2 separate regions of the Homo sapiens genome follow, and region 2 is linked to region 1. The links are contacts of gene promoters, found by promoter capture Hi-C in blood cells and fetal thymus (Javierre and others, 2016). All regions are on one chromosome and are shown on one strand. The core of a region is centred on a gene start or on the middle of the fragment in contact, and the rest is flanking DNA. Distances in the headings are between cores, read along the strand shown. Region 1 holds the start of KLF15 (KLF transcription factor 15). Region 2 has its middle 73 kb from the start of ALDH1L1.

Evidence for each region. The method cuts DNA at HindIII sites, captures the fragments that hold promoters and counts their contacts. A CHiCAGO score of 5 or more calls a contact.
Region 2: a contact is called between a fragment that was not itself captured here and the fragment with the promoter of KLF15 in region 1, in 1 of 17 cell types (endothelial precursors). The highest score is 5.1, in endothelial precursors.

What each region holds. Positions count from the first base shown.
Region 1 is chr3:126,355,585-126,359,856 of GRCh38, reverse strand. KLF15 (KLF transcription factor 15) reads left to right here and starts at 2,449. Exons shown (of 3, transcript NM_014079.4): 1 at 2,449-2,620. RefSeq lists a silencer at 2,270-2,489 and enhancers at 2,388-3,147, 3,148-3,907. The HindIII fragment of the contact is 4,432 bases long and covers 868-4,272 here.
Region 2 is chr3:126,251,186-126,255,581 of GRCh38, reverse strand. No RefSeq gene overlaps it. Among named protein-coding and RNA genes, the nearest start is that of ALDH1L1, 73 kb to the right of the region's middle. The HindIII fragment of the contact is 1,038 bases long and covers 1,308-2,345 here.

The sequences.
Region 1 (4,272 bases), core at 1,200-3,699:
ACAAATCAATAAATAATATAAAGATCAGGATCATGAAGCAAAATAAACAGAGGCCAGGAAACTGAGGGCAGCAGATGTGCTGTTTTAGACGGGATGGGTGAGGAAGGTGTCTGGGATAAGGTGGCATCTGAGCAGAGACCTGAGTATGCGATGGAGCAATCCATGCAGCTGTTTAGGGGGAAACAAGAGACAATAGAAGAACGTTTCCCTGAACGAAGAAAGACTTGAGTTTCCAGATTAAAAGGATACACCAAGCATAGAGTAGTAACAATGAAAACAGAAGGAGGCTAGAGTCAGACATATCCTGGTAAAATGTGTGAAATTCAAGCATGGAGAAAGATCACTCCAAAAAGGCACCAGGCCCAAATGGTTTTATAGGCAAGGTCATACAATATTTAACCAATATAATTTATATCCTTCCAAGGCCCTTTTCTATACTTGATTATGTAGAAGTAGGGAAGGAATTGCTTTGGAAGAAAAGAAACTTAGAGATTTTCACTGCTATGAAGATAAATCTTTACTGTTTTTGGTCATCTGTTTTGAAGAGCACCACCTGACTTTGTTCTCTCCTTTCTGCCAAGGAATCTCAATGATAGATTCTCCCCACTATATTGAGGGAGCTTTTCTCCTTAGATATGGTTTGGGGTAAATGCTGTACCTAGCTGTAGGGCATTAAAGATTGTGGTGAAAACTTGGGCTTTACTTACTCTGAGTGAGTTGGGAGCTGCTGGAAGCTTCTGAACCCAGAAGGGACCTGATCTGACTCAGGTTTTAACAGGACCATCTTGGCTGTTCTCCAGTTTCTAGCCAGTGGGGCCTCCTCCCTGTGTGCTGAAGGTGCTAACGATGTGTCTTTGCTTCCAAGCTTTTTCTGACCTTTTGCTGCAGCTTTCACCAAGGAGATGGGAGGCACTAGACTGAGAGTATGTGAGGAGTGAAGACCGAGGGCGGGCAGGGCAGATGGAGAAGTGCTGTGGCTATGCCCAATCCAGACCTGCACTGAGACAAAATGAGGAATACAGGCCTCTATCTCTTCTCTTATGAAAATGGACAAATTCCACTGTTCTGCCCAGGCTAGCCAGGGCTGCTGTAATGCCAGAGTGGTCATTCCAACTTCTGTGAACTAGAAAGCCTCTCACCATCCTCAACACAAATGTCCTTAAAGCCCTCTGGCAACGCATTGGTTTGGCTCCTAGTGGCAGCAGCAGCTGAATCCCTGGCACTGACCTGGTGCACAGTGTCCCCAGATCCCTGGTCAAGCAAGCCTAGACCTATAGCATTCCAGAGAGCCTGGAAAGGGTATGGTTAAAAATTCCTGTTCTAGCAATGTCTTCAAGAAGAAGCAGGAGAAAATGCTCCCCACCTCCCAGTGCCAGGAGGGGAGAGGAAGGAAGCTCAGTAGGACAGCTCTGCACAGGTGGCCTGGGGGTGTCTGCAAGATGACCTGGCTCTACCTCTCTACCTGCTCCTTCCCAGCTGTGGGGCTGGGGAGGGCTGGTGCCCTCTCTGAGTCGGTTTCTTCATCTGTAAAGTGCTTGGCTGAGGATCCAGCTGGAGTGTGGATTAAAGGGCACAGCAGGGTGCCTAGCACCGTCAGCCCACGTGTTTTTCTTGGGCAAGCCACTCTGAGCCTTACTCTTCCTGTCTCTAAGCGGGAACCCAAATGCGAGCCAGGATTGCTGCGGACTAAAGCAGTCTACGAACGCTTTTGTAGACTGCGAAGCATTGTTTGGTCTTCAGAAAGGTGCCCCAGAGACAAGGTGTCATTGGTTTCAGGTGGGGGGGGGGGGGGCCGGTCAGCAAACCTCCTTAGTCCTGGAGGGCAGGGTGGCAGCGCAGAGCGCGCGCAATTTCCGGAGGGTAACTGATTGTCCTGCTGAAAGCCCAATACCGTATTTATCCAAAAATACGTCCTTCTAGGCAAGTGATTTATCTGACACTCAGCGGGGGACAGAGCTGCTTGTACCGCGCTGGGGATGAAGGTGGGGACGTGGGCCAGACCGGGCCAGACAGGCTCCCCAGCGCTTCCCGCTCAATCACGCAGACTGCACTTTGGGGCGATCTCAGAGCTTTTCTTAAGTCTTCAGGCCAGTCTCACGTTCTCACCTTGGGAACCGAGCTTTAGAAGCCGGCCCTCGTGGACGCCGCGAGACAGCGGCGAGAGGTGGGAAGCAAGGAGGTGGCTGCGGGCCAGGGACCAGGCAGCGTGTTGGGGGGCGTGCGCGTCTGGCAGCTCCGGGATCCCCGAGCATCCGCCGCTCAAGTCCGGGAGCCGCGCGGGCGGGCCGGGGCGGGGCCAGGGCGGGGCCAGGGCGGGGCGGGACGTGTGACGCGCAGCGCGGGCCAATGGGGCGCGCGCCCGGGGCCGAGCCTCCTGCGAGCCTTCGCGGCGCCCGCTGCGTCACGTGAGCGGCGGGGAGTGAGTGCCCAGCGAGCTGCGGGCGGGCTAGTGCTCCGCCGCAGCGACCCGCGGGCCGGCGGGCGATCGAGCCAGCGCAGGACCCGCGGCTCGGCCCCCGGCCGCCGCCGGACCGAGAGTCTAGCCGCCGCCCCCAGCCCAGCCCGCCCGGCCGCAGGACCGCCGGGGCCTGGCCGCCGGTCCGGCGTGCGCCAAGTTCAGGTGGGAGAGGCGCGGCGGGGCCGGCCGGCCGCGTGGACGCGGCCCCGGGTGATCAGAGGGCTGGCCGGCCTCGGGGCGCGTGGCCGTGCTCCCGCGCAGCTCTCGGAGGCACCGCGCGAGTGCTGGAGGAATGTCGGAGGAGCGGGATGGGCCCCCGCGGAGGTGGGCAGGGGTCGGACTGGCCCGGGGGAGGTGACCCCCCCCGCCCCGGTCGCCCACCAGCACTTTGCTGAGGCCCGCGCCGCCGCCTCGGTGCCTGGCCGGGCGATTCCGTGGCGCGCCTTGCGGGCCGGCCCTCCCATATGGTGGGCACCGGCGCGGCCTGGTGAGAGGAGGGGGAGAGCGGACGCGCTGGCCAGCCCGGGGTTGGGGGGCGGAGGGGCTGGAGACGGAGGGGTTACTGTCGGTCACCGCAGCAGTGTCGGGGGCAAGGGGGGGGCGTGGGACGAGGGCATGGTGCCCAGCGGGCAGCGGTCCAGGACTCTAGAAGGGGTCTGAGCCGGCTCTCTTCATTTCCCACGCACGTTTCCCCTCACCCGCCGGCACCCACGGCGGCTCCACGCGCGAGTCCTTCGCGGACAGCCTCCCGCACAGCCACAGCGGCTGCCGCGCACCACGCCCCGCACACGCAGTCACACGACAGGAACTCACACCCCTTCACGCACACCCGCACCGTTCACGCGTCTCACTCCACGCTGAGTCCCCGTCCGCTCAGACCGAACATTACCAAAGCCATGGCCTGACCGAGGGATGGCGGCGGCGGGGCAGAGAGGCCGTCCCCATCCCATATGGTGGTCCGGTTCACTCTTCCCTCCCCGCCTTGGTGTTACTCATGGAACCCCCCTCTCACGGAGGGCACAGAGGGGCTGTTTTCTCCCACGGCCCTCGGAGGTGACAAAATCAACAATTGTTTGAGAGCCTCAAATCTCCTTCCCCCTGTCCCCCCGGACCAGGTGGCCCCTGGGGAGACCCTGCCGCCCTACAGGTGTGAGGACGCCCGGACTCTGCGACTTTGGGGCCTGCGGGCGGCTCAGGGACCGGAGACTCTTATTTTGAAGGACAGCCCCCGCCGCCACCCCCGTGATTTGCACGCTGACCCAATGGCAAGCCCTTGGCCGGCGCTGGGCTTGTTATCAATTACATGTTGTTCCTGCAGCCGCTGTGTCCCCGGGAGGATAAACAGCAGGCCTGGCCGGGCCAGGGGAGGGGGCGGAGTCCGGCGGCCAGCCGGGGACTGTGCCCGGAACAGCGTGTCCCCTCCCCCTGCACGCAGCCTGCGCCTCTGGCCGCCCCACGTGCTGCTGTGTTTCAGGGGCCGAGCCAGCTCCAGCCCTAGAGTGTCCTCTCTTTAATGCCGGTGCCCTGGGACATCCCAGAGCCCTTTCTGGGTTGTCAGTGCCTGGGTGCTTCCCCCTTGGGACGTTCAGCCCAGCATTAAGACCCTGTTGGCTGACCTGGGCCACCCATTCCTACTCTCCGACCTCCCCCGCTCTCCCCCGCACCTTCCATTCACTCATTCAGCAAATTTTGCCCGGTCCTGTTTTAGACTCTGGGATATGGCCTTGGAGTGAACAGTCAGGACAGCTGATATTCTGATGGGAAGGTAGACAGGGAGGAAAGTTCACAAACACATCACCAAGATAGTTTCCCAC
Region 2 (4,396 bases), core at 577-3,076, 100 kb after region 1:
ATTAAAACTTAGGACCTTAGCACCACTCTCAGTTACCATGATTTGGGGCTTCTGGCCTTAGCATGTCATAGGTTACAGTGCCTTCATGGTCACACATTTCTTTCAGTTCTTGTCATTCTAGTTGAAGAGAGACCATTTGACATTCTAGAGATGGCTGCATGCAAACATTTAAAACTTTTGAAAGAATATAGCACATCAGGGAGGCTACTATTATGATCATCAGAAGGATAACACCAAGAGTTTGGAGTATGCTCCTTAGCCAGGGTCCCCATGAACCTAACCAACTAAAATCAAATAGAGCAAATAATGAGCTATACAAAAAGTCTGCTTGCTTTAACCAAGCAGCCTGTTCATTAATCCCCTACAACTGACTCTCTATAATATCTGATTTATTCCTCCACGGGCAACAAGAAGTGCCAGCAACTACAAAGATACTTCTCTGTTTGGCCGGTAAGAAATCTAGAGCAGTTTTATTACTTAGCATAATTTTCACAAGAGAATTTAAAGTCTGCTGTGTAACCATAGCCTTTACAGTAGAATCTGCTATAGAGCCTATCATGAGGGATACATTTCTAACAATTTCCTAATTTACTTCAAACCATGGAAAAAGGCACCTAACAAATGTTACCCATCTAGAAGAATGAAGACTTCCTGGCAATGTTCTCTTTAACCCATGATGTAGGTTAAGAGGAGTAGACAAATGTTCTGTTTCTGACTATGAGGTAACAAATGTATCATTAAAATTTGTCACCTATGTTGGGCCTTCGTCATCCATCTATCGAGGCATAGGCTGTTGATGTACAAAGCTGGCACAAAATCCCTTGCAAATAAAAGTATACCCCATGAATGCACACAATAGACCTCCTTTCCACTTCTATTGTTTACAGAAGCATAAGGAAGGAAAAAATAGATAGATAAGAGTCTCATGATAGCAGAGAAATCTTGATCCCTGATCGTGGGACAAAGCTGTCCATGTCAAGGATGCTGTCTTCTTATGGGGAGAAACATCCCTGGTTAGCTTTACCGTAAGGTTTCCAATGGGTGTACAGTTCCAAGAGTGTGGAGAGACCTTTCTGAGTTGTGAGATTACAAACCCAAGGTTCAAGGTCACCAAATTTTGTTGCAGTATATATGGCAAGGGCAGTCTTTCTTTAATGTTCTCAGAAGATCCAACTTTCAAGCTCTAGGCTATGAAGGGGTTGGTTGTCTTCAGTCAGTGGACTATAAAAAATATTCTTTACCTGTGAACATATACTTAGGCATAATGAGCCGCTGTTATAACAACAGCCCTCTTGCATGAGAAAGCTTTTATACAACCAGAAAACGTGCATTGAAAATGACAATTAAATGAAATCCCTCTATAAATGTTTACATGGCCTGTCAGGTAGTGAAAATGTACTTGAAGTTTTGATTGTCCTCCCAGGAATATGGATTTGACAAACTAAACATTGGTCATAAACTATTTTAGCAATTTAGAACAGTCACCATATAGATATATTTAATTTGGATCATTTTATCTCTTCCATGATGATTCATGGAATGCAGAGCTTTTAATATGGAAAGTTTGAAGGACTCAGGAAGGACAAGGAGGCTATCTGGGTTCTCCATGAGTCCACGTTTAACACTGGACTTATGTCCTCTTAAATACCATTTTTTCTCCTATTTAGGTGCATAGTACTGATAACTGATGGGTTATCATAGGGAATTTGACTTGGACCATAGAGTTTATTCAAATAGTATATCCAAACAATTTTAGTACTGGCTGATTTAACATGAAAATCTGGCAAAGTATTTTCTTGGTATTCAATTAATTTTTGTCCTGCTTGGGTTAGTAGTTTTACAAACCAGTTGTGTCATCATTTGCTCAAATCAAGGAAAAAAAATGGTGCTCACATAAAAGTTCAGTCAAGACAAGATGGCCAGAAAAGCACCTTAGACAAAAGTACGATTTATTATGTAAATTTAAAACAGTGGTAAAATTTCCAATGTACATAGGCAGACATCCTTAAAAATGGAGATTCCTTAATAGGTGTACATTTCTTTTACAAAAGGGTTTCAGGTTAGCCAATCATATTCCAGAAAGGTGTATTTTAGTTAAATAGGTGTTCCGTTTAACTTAGCTACTGTTTCTTGGCTAAAATTACTGGGTTCACAGTGGACTCCATTAAGGAATAGGGCAGAGAAAGCATCCTTTATGCCTGGACTCAGCAGGGAGAGATCTGAAAAAGAAGCCTTTCCTTTTATAAACGCTTTAGGCTAGCTTTCTTTCTGCTATTAGGGCAGGATGATGACAAAACTAAAAGGTCAGCAGATTCAATTTTTCTTATCAATCAGTCACTTAAGCTTTTTATTTGCCTTTTATAAAAAGCCTTTTAAAATATTAAAGTCTCTTTAGAACTTCTGCATATCACTAGGCATCCCTAGATGAGACTAATTTGAAAGCCCTCATTTTCAAATGCACTTCTTCAAGTGCAGAGTTGTTCGTTTGGATCATTCTACTGTAACTTATCTTTAGTAAAATTTCATAATTTCTGTAAGTCTTTGTTGCTTCCAGGGCCTAATACTTACCCATCGATAAACCAGAAGGTACTGAGTTCTTCAGAAATTAAGGATCTCATTTTTACCTCAAATATTGGCTTTGGCTCTCAGGCCCCCTTGATCAACTTAGCCAGTGATTTTTCGTTCCCAAAGCATGCAAGAAGAAAGAAACAAAGGAGGTAGAACACAAAAATCCCTGTCAATTTCCCAAAGCCAAAGTTTACACCTCCTACAGCATTGCCTTTTACTACTGGTTTCTTTCTGACCCAGTTAGAGGTCTCTTATAAACCTCTAACTAGATCCAAGCCAGTTAATTATTGAATCCAATCCAATTCTGAATCCAGTTCAGTTTCTGTCATGCCTTCCAAACACAGTTTGGATCATAAATTAGCTCAAAGAAACTTGAAGAGCTCAGAACACAAATCCATGGAGCTTTGGAATCCTGGAGAGAACTTACCAGGATCCCCAGTCACTGCCAGAGAACAATGAACACAATGGGCCTGGCGGGAACCTTGCTTGGCCACTTGGTGCTCCTGGAGGTCACCAAAAGCTCTACTTTGGATCTCACTTCTGACATCATCTGTTAAAAGGGAAACCTTAGCCAAATTAAATTTTATAGAGTTTAATTGACCAAAGAATTATTCATGAATCAGGCAGCCTTCCAAGTAGGCTCAGAGACTCCAGTGAAGCCAAGAGATAGAAGATGATTGAAGGACAGAAAAAGGAAAATGATATATAGAAAACGGAAATGAGGTACAGAAACAGCGGGACTGGTATAGCTTGGCATTTGCCTTATTTGAACACTGTCTGAACAGTTGGCCTTCTTTGGTTGGCCAAAACTCAGTGATTGGCACAAAAGTGGACTATAGTCTATCTACACCTCCATTTAGGTTATAATTTGTCATGTACAGATAAACCTTTAGGCTGAACTTAAAATATGTAAGGAAGTGGCTTTAGGCTAAACTTGATTTACCAATGCCCTGCCTGGGTATCCTTTACCAAGATATACAAGAGAATATTGTACTTTCTGAATGGGGAACTCTACTAGCCACCATCTTGAGTGTCCACACTTAGTAGCATTATTGATAGTGCGGCAACTTTTACACTGAACTCAGTTAAGCCCCAACACCTAATTTTCAGTTTACGAGAGAAGGGGAGGTTGGGAGGGCATATAGGAACAAGTTAAATAACCTCATTAAAGAAAGGTCAGTCAAGTCAGAATGTGAAACATTTTACAAGAAAACTGATGTGGACTTTTAAAGAAGTCAATGCCATTAAAAACTTGTTTTTTGTTTTTTGTTTTTTTAAGAAAAGCAAGGCAACTATTCTAGACTAACAGAGACCAAAAGGCCTAATAGCCAAATGCTTTGTGTGAACACAGACTAGATCCTGCTTTAAGAAAAAGCTATAAAAGACATTCTTAGGATAACTGAAGAAATTTAAATAAGAATGGGATAGTAGATATATGGAATTATTGTTAATTTTATTGGATGTGACAATGACATTGTATCTTGTAGGAGCTGATCTTTATTCTCAGAAGATGCAGACTTAAGTATTTAAGAGCAAAGCACCATGATGTCCGCAATTTACAACCAAATTGTAAAGCATAGATAGATAGAGAATAAATATGACAATACTTTGACAATTTTATTGAGGTAGGCGATACACAGATATACAGGGATTTGATGTATTCTTTTAACTTTTCTGTTGGTTTGAAATTTTTCATAATAAAATGTTAGGAAATGTATTTAAAATGGAATTTGTCTGTAAAAAAGAATAAGAATCAAATGCTGTAAAATATTTGAATATATTTATTCTGAGCCAAATCTGAGTGACCATGGCCCATGAGGCAGCCCTC